Regions from separate parts of the Homo sapiens genome. Here region 2 is linked to region 1. The links are contacts of gene promoters, found by promoter capture Hi-C in human tissues and cell types (Jung and others, 2019). All regions are on one chromosome and are shown on one strand. Each heading gives the region's core, a stretch centred on a gene start or on the middle of the fragment in contact. The rest is flanking DNA. Distances are from core to core; before and after follow the strand shown.

Region 1 (6,389 bases), core at 3,890-6,389:
GTCTCCTCTTACCTTGCCAGGGGCCGTGCCGTTAGTTACTAGTAGTACAAAGACAAGTAAACCACAGTCGTTGCCATAGAGGAGCATGCCCTTAACCTAACTACAGTCGCTGATTTCTGGAAAACGTGCTCAGAAATGAAATTTTTGAGGCCGGGCATGGTGGCTCACGGGAGGCTGAGGCGGGCAGATCACTTAAGGCCAAAAGTTCGAGACCAGCCTGGCCAACATGGTGGAACCCCGTCTCTACTAAAACTGCAAAACTTAGCCAGGTGTAGTGGTGCTCGCCTGTAATTCCAGCTTCTTGGGAGGCTGAGGCAGGAGAATTGCTTGAACCCAGGAGGCAGAGGTTGCAGTGAGCCGAGATCCCACTGTGTCCGCAGTTGGTTCCTTCTAGTGGGTTCGTGGTCCCGCTGACTTCAAGAATGAAGCCGTAAACCTCTGTGGTGAGTGTTACAGCTATTAAAGGTGGTGCAGACCCAAAGAGTGAGCAACAGCAAGATTTATTGTGGAGAGCAAAAGAACAAAGCTCCCACAGCGTGGAACGGAACCTAAGCGGGTTTCTGCTGCTGGCTTGTTGGGGTGGGGATGGGCTGGTCGGGGAGGCAGCTTTTATTCCTTTATTTGTCTCCACCCATGTCCTGCTGATTGGCCCATTTTACAGAGCACTGATTGGTCCATTTTACAGGGTGCTGATTGGTCCATTTTACAAATCTCCAGCTAGCTACGGAGCACCGATTGGTGTGTTTTTACAGAGCACTGATTGGTGCATTTTACAAACCTCTAGTTAGCTACAGAAAAGTTCTCCTAGTCACCACTCCACCCAGGAAGTCCAGCTGGCTTCACCTCTCACCACCACGGGCACTCCAGCCTGGGCGACAAGAGTGAAAAACTCCATCTCAAAAAAAAAAATAATAATAAAGAAGAAATGAAATGTTTCAAGGAAACATAAGGTACTCTGCTACCTAGAATAAGCGAGTATGGGCATATTCCCATCACTGAAGTCAGATGAGCAAAGACCTGTCTCAGGGAAAGGACAGCTTGATCCCATCAAGTTTTCAAGTTTTGAGGTCATTTGAGTTCCCCAGGAAAGAGGAAGGCTGTGGTCCCCAACTCTGTTGGGGTGTAGATGCAGGCCGCCCTTCCTCCATTCCTTCCTGCCAGAGACTCAATGTGAATAGTGTCTGGGCCTTGGAGTGGGGAGAATCTGCTGGCCCTTCACACCTTCGCTGTGGGCCCAGCTTCCCTCCCATCTGCAGCTCAGCATCAACCCAGGCCTCCCTGAGATGAGAGAAGACCCCAGCCAGCTCTCCCTCCCTTTCCCAGGCTTAGGAGCACTCCTTTGGGGAGTCCAGGTGGCCTTGCCCAGCCACCTGTCCCAGAGCCTGCTCCCACTCTGCCTCTGTTGAGCCTGGGGCATTTGCCTTCTGACCCCCAGAGCGTCCCCTCTGACCCGTTGGGCTCTCAGGAAGCAGGCCGTGTAGTTGCTCTGAATTTCCCGGTGAAGCCGTCTTTCCTCCGCTTCTTCCCCATTCACCGATATTTGACATTTATTGAGGGGCCACAGTGTGCCGGGCCTTGCTCTGGGAATACAGTCAGTAATGAAGGAGACAAAGTCCTGCCCTGGGTTAGGGCCCAGCCATATGACCTCATTTGAGTGAAGAATAAAGACATTCAGCAAACAACCTCACTAATATAAAATTATAGAGAGGCTGGGCGTGGTGGCTCACGCCTGTAATCCCAGCACTTTGGGATGCCCAGGCCAGCGGATCACTTGAGCACAGGAGTTCAAAACCAGCCTGGCCAACATGGTGAAACCCCGTCTCTACTAAAAATATAAAAATTAGCTGGGCATGGTGGCATTGCCTGTAATGCCAGCTACTTGCGAGGGTTGAGGTGGGAGGGTGGCTTGAGCCCAGGAGGTCGAGGCCTCAGTGAGCCTAGATTGTACCACTGCACTCCAGCCTGGGCGACAAAGTGAGACCCTGTCTCAAAATAAAATTATAGAGATAAGTCCTGTATCAGAATGCAGTGTAATTCAATGAGAGGATAATATGCTGATTCATCCTAATTATGACTTACGAGGCAGAGTGTGGGTGTGGTGAACAGAGAAGGAATTAGGAGGTGCAAAGGCCCTGGGGCAGACAGGTAGGCAGGTACCAGAATGTAACAGTTGCCATATTACTCACACTTCTGCTCCAAGCATATACCTAAGAGAAATGAAAACATGTCCCCATAAAACCTAGTACATGAATTTTTTATTTTTTTGAAACAGGGTCTCGCTCTGTCACCCAGGCTGGAGTGTAGTGACATGATTGCGGCTCACTGCAGTCCAAGCTTGTAGGCTCAAGCGATTCTCCTGCCTCAGCCTCGCGAGTAGCTGGGACCACAGCTGTGCACCACCACACCCAGCTAATTTTTTTTTTTTTTTGTATTTTTTGTAGATATGGGGTCTCGCTATGTTTCCCAAGCTGGTCTCCAACTCCTGGGCTCAAGTGATCTGCCTGCTTCAGCCTCCTAGTGTGCTGGGATTACAGGCGTGAGCCACCGTGCCCAGCCCAATTTGTACATGAATTTTTATAGCATCATTATTCATAGTAGCCAAAAATGAAACAACCCAAATGCCTATTAACTGCTGAATCAACAAAATGTATATCCAGACAATGAGTATTAACCAACCACAATAAGTAATGAAGTTCTGATACGGTTGAAAACATAGTTGAATCTTGAAAACATTATGCCAAGTTAAAGAAGCCAGTCACAGATGACCACATATTGTATGATTCCATTCCTGTGAAGGGTCCACAATAGACAGGTCCATAGACACCAGGTGGCTTAAATAACAGAAATTTATTTTCTCACAGTTCTGGACGCTAGAAGTCCAAGATCAAGGAATTGGCAGAGTTGGTTTCATTCTAAGGCCTTGCTCCTGGGCTTGTAGATAGCCATCTTCTCCCTGTGTCTTCACGTGCTCTTCTTCTGTGTGACTGTGTCCTTTTTAAACATTTATTGTGGGCCAGGTGCGGGGGCTCACGCCTGTAATCCCAACACTTTGGGAGGCAGAGGTGGGCAGATCATGAAGTCAGGAGTTCCAGACCAGCCTGACCAACATGGTGAAACCCCGTCTCTACTAAAAATACAAAAATTAGCCAGGTGTGGTGGTGCGCAGCTGTAATCCCAGCTACTCAGGAGGCTGAGGCAGGAGAATCACTTGAACCTGGGAGGTGAAGGTTGCAGTGAGCCAAGATGGCACCACCACACTCCAGCCTGGGTGACAGAGGGAAAGTGTCTCAAAAAAAAAAAAAAGTATTGTGGTCAGGCATGGTGGCTCACGCCTATAACCCCAATACTTCGGGAGGCTCTGAGGCAGGTGGATCAACTGAGGTCAGAAGTTCAAGACCAGCCTGACCAACATGGTGAAACCCCGTCTCTACTAAATACAAAAACTTAGCCAGGCGTGGTGGCATACACCTGTCATCCCAGCTACTTGGGAGGCTGAGGCAGGAGAATTGCTTGAACCCGGGAGGTAGAAGTCTCAGTGAGCTGAGATTGTGCCACTGCACTCCAGCCTATGCAACAAGAGCAAAACTCCGTCTCAAAAATAATTTTTAAAAATAAAAATTTATTGTTTATTTATTTTTTGAGACAAGGTCTTGCTCTGGTGCTCAGGCTGGAGTGCAGTGGCACAATCACGGCTCACTGAAACCTCCACCTCCAGGAGTTCAAGACCAGCCTGGGCAACATGGTGAAACCCATCTCTACAAAAACTAGACAGCTGTGGTCTCAGCTACCCAGGAGACTGAGGTGGGAGGGTCACTTGAGCCTAGGAGGTAGAGGTTGCAGTGAGCTGTGACTGCACCACTGCACTCCAGCCTAGGTGACAGAGTGAGACCCTGTCTCAAAAAAAAGGGGGGGGGGATACCAGTCTTAACTGGATGAGGTACAATGTGACTTCATTTTACCTTAATCACCCTTTAAAGACCCTGTCTCCAAAGACAGTCACCTTATGAGATACTGAGTGTTAGGACTTAAACATATGCGTTTGGTTGCGGGGGGACATGATTCAGTCATATCAAGGTGGGGAATGGAGTGGTGTAACTGCTGATGGGTGTGCGTCTCCTTTTTGGGGTGGTTAAAATGTTCTGGAATTAGTGGCAATTAATGTGCATCTCTGTGAATATACTAAAAACCACTGAATTGCCCAGCCAGAAAGGATAAACTTTTGCCCTGGGGCAGGAAGAAGGCTGGCATGCAGAGAGAGGAGAAAGGGGGGCTGGATGAGCTGGCCTGCTAGCGGGGGCCCCAATACTACATAAGACCTTGCCCTTCTCCACAGTATCTGGTGTTAAATCTCATTATGAGGACCCTTTCAGCCCGGGGTTGGGATTGGAAGTGAGACATTGAAACTTCAAGGGCTGGGTTCTGGCCCGGGTGGGGATTTGCCATGGAGCAAAATAGCCTCTTGCAGCACATGCGGGGTTTCCTGTGCCGGGCACTGTCCTAAGTCCTTCTCAACTCTTTCGTCATTGAGTTCTCATAGCAGTCCAGTGAGCCAGGTACCATTCCTCTCTTCAGTCCACGGTGCCAGGTCACTTGGCTAGGGTCCCACTGAGAGTTCGAAGGAAGCCAGGCTAGAGCTCAGGCCTCTCACCAGCTGGAGGTCTTTCCCAGACTCTCTAAGGTGAGAGTTGGTGAATGGTGTCAGCCTGGGCCTGGATGAGTGACCCACGGTGCTCAGTGAATTTCAGGAACAGAGCCAGGGGATGCTGCGGTCAGGGGTGTCTTGATGGGGAAGAAGCAGGGCTGGGCGCTCACCTGGCTTCCCCGGACCTGCAGGTCCAGCCTCGCTCTCCTTCCCCCGAGCACCTCTAGCCCAAGGCCTGCCCACTTGCTGGAGCTGGCCCCTTGGCAAGGCTGCTGGGAGGGCCCGTGCTGCCAGGGCGGTCAGGGTCAGTGTCAGAGGTGCCTAAGGGACGCCCAAGGGGGTGCCCAGGTGGCAAGGTGCCTGTATGCTCAGGGAAGCCACGTCCCAGCTCGCGGGTGGGTGCAGCAGAGGCCCACGTGACCTTGCTGCTGACATTCCTCAGAGGCCATGTGGCCCCAACTGGCAGCGACAGCTGCAGACGGGCTGAACCAGCTTTGTTCCCAGGGTGGCGCCTGCTCTCCATCCAGGCCCCATTCCGGCTCCCACCCGACGCTGCTTTTGTTCCCACGTTTCGGGGGGCAGCTGGCACTGTGATTCCTGCCCCATGAGTGCCTAGAGGCACGGAGCCACCAGGGATCACCCCACGTGGGACACAGGGCTTGGGGAGGATGGGGCAGGACCAGACCAAGCAGCAGATCGAGAAGGGGCTCCAGCTGTACCAGTCCAACCAGACAGAGAAGGCATTGCAGGTGTGGACAAAGGTGCTGGAGAAGAGCTCGGACCTCATGGGGCGCTTCCGCGTGCTGGGCTGCCTGGTCACAGCCCACTCGGAGATGGGCCGCTACAAGGAGATGCTGAAGGTGGGTGTACCCGGCCTGGGGGCGTTCGAGGGTCAGGCTGGGGCCGGATGTCTCCCAGGCTCCCCAGTCCCCTCTCGGCCTCCTCGGGCTCCCCTGTGTCCCACAGGCTGGCAGCCAGGGCCCGAGGCTCTGAATTTATATCTAAGGCCCTGGGTCTTAGATACTGAGTCTTGGCATCAGATTCAGGCCTGTGGCCTTGAACTGTGGTGCCCGAGTCTCTGAGACTGAGGTTCTCCAGCCTCAGGGTCGAGGGTTTGTGGGTCTCAAGCCCATTGTAGGTTTCAGCCTTCCTGTCTGGTGTTCTGTGTCTGAGCCTGGCGGGGTGTGGGCTCCAGGGTTGCGGCTGGGGGTGGGTGGGTGGTGGAGACTCCAGATCTGAGGCTTGGGATAGAAGGTGAAGGCTGCAAGCCTGAGCTTGGGAGGTGAGGCTGGGGTGTAGGGAAGGTAGCTGAGGCTGGCGGGTAGAAGCTCTGGGTCTGAAAAGAAGCTTTGGGATCTGCTGCTTTGGGTGTGAGGCTGGGGGGTGGGTGTGGGGCCTCCAGGTCTGAGCCTGCAGTGCAGGCTGGGGTCCAAGGCTCAGAGTCCAGGCTGAGCACCACCTGCCCACCGTCGCTGTGTGCAGTTCGCTGTGGTCCAGATCGACACGGCCCGGGAGCTGGAGGATGCCGACTTCCTCCTGGAGAGCTACCTGAACCTGGCACGCAGCAACGAGAAGCTGTGCGAGTTTCACAAGACCATCTCCTACTGCAAGACCTGCCTTGGGCTGCCTGGTACCAGGGCAGGTGCCCAGCTCGGAGGCCAGGTCAGCCTGAGCATGGGCAATGCCTTCCTGGGCCTCAGCGTCTTCCAGAAGGCCCTGGAGAGCTTCGAGAAGGCCCTGCGCTATG
Region 2 (6,564 bases), core at 3,240-5,739, 540 kb after region 1:
AAAATAGCAGGTCTTAATCATGGAGTGGTTGGATGTGACAGTTCTGGGGTAAGCCAAATCTTTAATAGTAATAACAAGAGCTATTATTTATTGAGCACTTAGTATGTGCCAGGCAGTAATGCTAAGTCCTTCTTATGAATTAACTAATTTATTTCTCATAACATTCCTGTAAGTTAGGGGATTTTATTATCCCAATTTTCCTGATGAGAAAATTATATATAAAGAGGTTAAATAGCTGCCCAGGGTCAGACAGCTAGGAACTTAGCAGAGTCAGGATTTTTATCCTGGGGAGTTTTGTTCCTCCGTGCTTAACATTATGTTCTTCTGCCTCATAACTTTGGAGGCTAACCATTAAGGACTTCTTTTCTGTATGTAACAGTAGCAAGAGAGGGCTGAACTTGCTTGGACCCGCAATCATGTGCCCGACATGTCCCTTTCGAAACGGGCCACTGAGGAGAAGACTTCACCTGGTAGATTTTCCAAACCAACCAAGTTAAGCTGGCCTCTAGGAATCGGGAATAAAAGGGACCATGGGACAGAAATAAGTAGAAACATGGCGTGTCAGTTTCACAGCCGGATAATACAGCTGGTGAAAGGAACTCTTGTAGGAGAAAGGAGTAAACAAAACCTGGGTAGGACAAAGAGGCTGCCTTGCAAACGAGAAGATTCCTGTTCTCTCCAGCACTGGTTAGGTAGGAAATAACTACTTTTATTTATGATATTCTGAGTCTCTTTTCCTTTGACTCCAGCTTTCACAAGATTCTAGAGGAGTGTTTCATTCATTCATTCATTCATTCAACGAACTTGTATTTATTGCTGCCAGTGGATAAAAGGAGAGAGGCATATGCTAATATGCTTTAGCATATTATAAACGAATGGTGATTCCTCCTTTTTTTTTTTTTTTTTTTTTTTTTTTTTGAGACGGAGTCTCGCTCTGTCGCCCAGGCCGGACTGCGGACTGCAGTGGCGCAATCTCGGCTCACTGCAAGCTCCGCTTCCCGGGTTCACGCCATTCTCCTGCCTCAGCCTCCCGAGTAGCTGGGACTACAGGCGCCCGCTACCGCGCCCGGCTACTTTTTGTATTTTTAGTAGAGACGGGGTTTCACCTTGTTAGCCAGGATGGTCTCGATCTCCTGACCTCATGATCCACCCGCCTCGGCCTCCCAAAGTGCTGGGATTACAGGCGTGAGCCACCGCGCCCGGCCGATTCCTCCTTTTCTCATTGTAATCCTAATAGCTTCCACACTGGGGTAGCCACCAGACTCCAGAACACTCACAGGGTACTCCTTAAGCCTTCTCATCTCTGGTTCAGCTTGAAAAAGCTGGTCTGTAGCTGTGAGTAGTCACGGTCTACCCATGTGCCTCCATGTGACAGATGTGGTCCACCTTCAGCTGTGCATTCTATGGAATGGTGGAGAGCAGTGCCGCTAGACACTTGAGTGTGCATCGGTGTCACCCGGAAAGCTTACTGAAAGTCCAGACTCTGAGATCACACTAAGAGAAGAATACTAGTTTAAGTGTCAGAATGGGGCTGCCATCCTGGCTCTCCTACTTACCTTGTGACCTTGGCCAAAGCGGGTGCCCTTACCTGTTGGATGGGCCCTGCAGTCATTGCTCAGGATTATTGTAATGATTCAATGAGAATGCAAGTGCATATGCAAAAGTAGCTCACAAACTAAAGAGAAATTGCAAAGTATAATTATTTGTTATGGGAAGCCCTGTTCCCTGGACCAACAACACTCGAGTGCTGATTCAAAAGTGCTGGGACGCCAGACTTTCCCCACTTCATTACTTTACCTTCCGGCGAGGGAAATGAATCTTTCTTTACCTTAGCAGTAACCAGAAAGAGGTCACTGTTTGAGACCCATAAACTCACTGCATATTTGCTATTGGAGAACACATAAAAGAGAGGGACCCAGAAGTTGTAAATTCCCCCTTTTGACCTTGGGGTTTTGGAGATTCTCACAACAGTAATACCATTTATTGGGAAGCAGTATAATCACCTGCCTGGGTGTGAATGCTGGCCTCAACCCTTAGTACTTGTGCAATCTATCTACAGACTTAACCTTTCTGTGGTTCATTGTCCCCAGCTGTAAAGTGGTGATAATATTAGGTTGGCGCAAAAGTAATTGCAATTTTTGTCATTAAAAGTAATGGCAAAAACCGCAATTGCTTTTGCATCAAACTAATAATAACAGTACCACCTCCTAGGGTTGTTGAGAGCCTTCAGTGATGTAGCATATGAAAAGCACTTAGAAAAGTACTCGGAGGGCACCTGGTAAGTATTTAATAAATGATGGGGCCAGGCGCAGTGGCTCACGCCTGTAATCCCAGCACTTTGGGAGGCCGAGGTGGGCGGATCATGAGGTCAGGAATTTAAGACCACCCTGGCCAACATGGTGAATCCCCGTCTCTACTAAAAATACAAAAATTGGCCAGGTGCAGTGATGGGTGCCTGTAATCCCAGCTACTCAGGAGGCTGAGGCAGGAGAATTGCTTCTCGGGAGGCGGAGGTTGCCGTAAGCTGAGATCGCGCCACTGCACTCCAGCCTGGGCAACACAGCAAGATTCCATCTCGGAAAAAAAAAAGATGGTTATATTATTATGAAGCTTTTGCTGTGTGTTAGCCCTGTGCTAAGCAGTTTATATGGGTTAATCTTTACAAAGCCCTTTGAGTTAGAACTGTTAATATTCCCATTTTATGGATGAGGAAACTGAGGCCTGGAGGGATTAACTAACTTGCTCAAAATTGCGGAATTTGTGGTAGAACCAAGATTTGAACCTTCATCTCTCTGACTTTAGAATCTATGTTGTCTACTACTAAGTTAGTGTGTCTTGTATACCAGATGGATGTTTCCCTTCTTTCCTTTATATCAGGGCTGTCCAGACTTTTGGCTTCCCTGGGCTACACTGGAAGAAGGATTGTCTTGGGCCACACATAAAATACATGAACATTAACAACAGCTGATGAGCTAAGAAAAAAGAAATCGCAAGTAATCTCATGTTTTAAGGAAGTTTACGAATTTGTGTTGGGCCACATTCAAAGCCATCCTGGGCCATGCAAGTCTCAGGTTGGACAAGCTTGCTTTATATGAAAGCCGTGAGAAAGTGGTAAGATGGCGGGAGTGGGAGAGATGAGATGTAAAAGGTAAGATTTTAGTTAACCTCTAGAGAAACATCCTATGAGCACATTAACATATATCCCAAAAGCTGGATGGCTTCATGATCAAAGATACCTTGCGGACAGACCTTTTCCATAGTGAATTGCATTAGGTGGAGGGGCTAGAGCCCAGGCCCCTGGAGGCTAAGGGAGCTTGCGATGTGGCTGGCAGCTTTCAAGGCCAGAGCATAGTGAAGTGTTCTAATTCAACACTTCTTAAAATGAAGGCTGCATTTTGCCACCCACAGTCATTTGTTTTCTTTCTTCACTCACCATTCTTTTCCTTAAAAAGGGTTAAAAGCTGCCTTTATGATCACAGCCAGGACTTGAGTGAAAAGGCAGAATTCCACCTCTGAGGACCCCAGAGGGACAGCAGTTGCCCAGAAGAGCTGGCTTTTTGGAGTATAATGTGTCTGTTTACTGTATGAATGCCCAAGTCAAGCGTTTGCCTGACCGGTGGCTGCCCGCCCTTCACTGCAGCGGACGCTGAGATGTTGATTTGACATGCAGGAAGTCGAGGCCCTTCAACTGCCTGCAACTAACTTGATGCCCACCGATGGAATGCTTTGTTCCTACAGTCTGCGCGGGGGAAATCGGGACTTCTGTTATCACTCAGCCAAAGGCGGGGGTGGGGCCCTAAAAAAACAAACGGAGCTTAAGGTTCTTCCCTACCAGTATGACTTTTCATTTGCACGCAGCCCCAGGACACTGCTCTACTTGCTCTATTCTGGTACTCTGATTCTTAATATCAAGGCCTTTTGGAAAAATTTAGCCTCCACAGCCCTGCATCTGCACAGCCCTGCATCTGCACACCCCAGCCTCCATTATTGAACATCTTTGGTGTGCCAAGGCATAAGATTAGTTTTTTCCACCTTTATTTTCTTGTCTAATCTTTGTTGCTTTTTTTTTTTTTCGAGACAGAGTCTCGCTGTGTTGCCCAGGCTGCAGTGCAGTGGCGTGATCTCTGCTCATTGCAACCTCTGCCTCCATGGTTCAAGCAATTCTTTTGCTTCAGCCTCCCAAGTAGCTGGGACTACAGGCGTGCGCCACCACGCCCAGCTAATTTTTGTATTTTTAGTAGAGACAGGTTTTCACCATGTTGGCCAGGCTGGTCTCAAACTCCTGACCTCAAGTGATCTGCCCGCCTCAGCCTCCCAAAGTGCTAGGATTATAGGCATGAGCCACCATGTTCAGCCCCTTGTGGCTTTTTTACAAACAAGAAAACTGAAGCTTAAGGGGCTACGTGACTTGCACAAGGTCAACTGGCTGGTCGATGGAACCCAAGTCTGTCTGCTCCAGGTCCAGTGCTTTGTCCTCTGCCTAACCTCCTCCTCCTATTCCCCCCTACTTCCTCTCTGTCCTTTCCACAGCTTTCATCCTGAACTCCCGTCTGGTACATCCCCACTCCCTACTGTGTGTGGTTAGCAGCATTTCTCAACCTCTGTTGATGTTTTGGGCCAGATAATTCTTTGTCATAGGGGCCTGTCTGCATGTTATAGATTTTTTTTTTTTTTTTTGAGACGGAGTTTCGCTCCTGTTGCCCAGGTTGGAGTGCAATGGCATGATCTCCCCTCACCGCAACCTCTGCCTCCTGGGTTCAAGCAATTCTCCTGCCTCAGCCTCCCAAGTAGCTGGGATTACAGGTGCCCACCACCATACCCGGCTCATTTTTGTATTTTTAGTAGAGACGGGGGTTTCACCACATTGGCCATGCTGGTCTTGAACTCCTGACCTCAGGTGATCCGCCCACCTGGGCCTCCCAAAGTGCTGGGATTACAGGCGTGTAATCCTGTATAGAATTATACACGTTATAGAGTCTTTAGCAGCATCCCTAGCTTCTACCCACCAGATGTCGGTAAGCACCGCCAAGCAGGACAACCAAAAATGTCTCCAAACATTGCTAAATGTCCTCCGGGGGACAAAATATCCCCAGTTGAGATCCTTATTAGCCTTATCCTTTTTCTTCACCATGATACCCCATGAAGGGGATCTGTGTACCGGGGAGTCCCATCACATGGAGTGGAATTAAACATCTTTGCTGTTCAATCCAGCTAGAGTTCACCAAAAGGGTGCCTACAGCTGTGCTGAGCCTGTCATACTACTGAAGTTCCTCAGGCTGTGTTGTCCAGGATCTGAGTGAGAAAAACCCTCCTCCCTTCTCAGAGTTCTCAGGCCAGAAAGGATGGAGTGGGGGCAGGGGCACCTGGGTCTTTTAGTGCTTCCTGGGGAAGAATCCTCTACCCTGCATTTGTAGAGAGACCCGAAGAGACAGGAGCACTGGGCTTGGAGCAAGGCCTTCCTGTGAGGTCTAGAGACACTGCACCTCCCAACTGGACCTCACTTGGCTTCCGCAGGAAATCCTGCATCTTTTTTTTTTTTTTTTTTTTTTTTTTTGAGACAAGGTCTCATCCTGTCACCATGGCTGGAGTGCAGTGGTGAGATCATGGCTCACTGCAGCCTCAACCTCCCGGGCTCAAGTGATTCTCCCACATCATGCTCCCAAGTAGCTGAGAGTACAGGTGTCCACCACCATGCCTGGCTAACTTTTGTAAATTTCTTTTCTGTAGAGACAGGGTTTTGCCATGTTCCCCGGGCTGGTCTCAAAACTGCTGTGCTCAAAGGATCCACCTGCCTCAGTCTCTCAAAGTGCTGATATTACAGGCATGAGCCACCGTGCCCAGCCCAATCCTGCATCTTTTCTAGAGCAGCTGATTACCATAGCATGTGGAGGGAGAGGGCCAGGCCTCAGTTGAGAATCTGGTGAAAGCTGTGATCCCTTACCCCAGAAACGTACATTATACCTGTAGCATCAGGGATTCACAGAACCCAAAAGCCATCCATCCATCCATCCATCCATCCGTCTGTCCGTCCATCCATCCATCCATCCATGCATTGCAGGCTAGGAAGTTTTACCTTATGCTTGCACTTACTCTTGGGGTTGAGATGGAGAGGGAAAGTTCTAGAGCTCTCTCCCTGCTTTTGGAGGGCATGGCAGCACACCTTTTTATCCTGGCCCTAAGCCCTAGGCTAGGCCAAGGAATTATAATGTGAGACAAGGATGTACATCAAGGAGATGAGCTGAGAGAGAAAAGCTGGACCAGGTACAGAGTATAGGAAGAGGGGTGACAATTTCGAGCTGACTCCTTCTCTGTTTCAGCCCAGCCTGAGGGCAGGGTCCAGCTGAGGGAAGGAAGAGGAGAAGAAAGGAAGGGGGAGAGATGAGCCATGCGCTGCGGCCCCCTCCTTCCCCAGCTGCGAGCAGAGCAGCCCAGCGGGTTGGATGAATGCTGGGAGGGGGGAGAGTGACCCTGGCAGAACCCTTTGTTCCAGCTGAGGCTGGAGCAGGGCACTGAGCCATTCACACGCCATCCCAGGGCATCCTGCTGGGCACGCTGGGGAGGGGG

What was found. Contacts are between HindIII fragments. The study calls those that stand out against the background at their distance.
Region 2: a fragment that was not itself captured here is called in contact with the fragment with the promoter of RAPSN in region 1 in 1 of the 25 tissues and cell types used here (lymphoblastoid cells).

The regions. Positions count from the first base shown.
Region 1 is chr11:47,447,886-47,454,274 of GRCh38, reverse strand. RAPSN (receptor associated protein of the synapse) reads left to right here and starts at 5,139. Exons shown (of 8, transcript NM_005055.5): 1 at 5,139-5,502; 2 at 6,125-6,389. The coding sequence starts at 5,311. The HindIII fragment of the contact is 7,804 bases long and covers 658-6,389 here.
Region 2 is chr11:46,903,966-46,910,529 of GRCh38, reverse strand. All of the region lies in intron 1 of LRP4 (LDL receptor related protein 4), which reads left to right. Among named protein-coding and RNA genes, the nearest start is that of LRP4, 11 kb to the left of the region's middle. RefSeq lists enhancers at 2,934-3,766, 3,767-4,601. The HindIII fragment of the contact is 3,286 bases long and covers 2,847-6,132 here.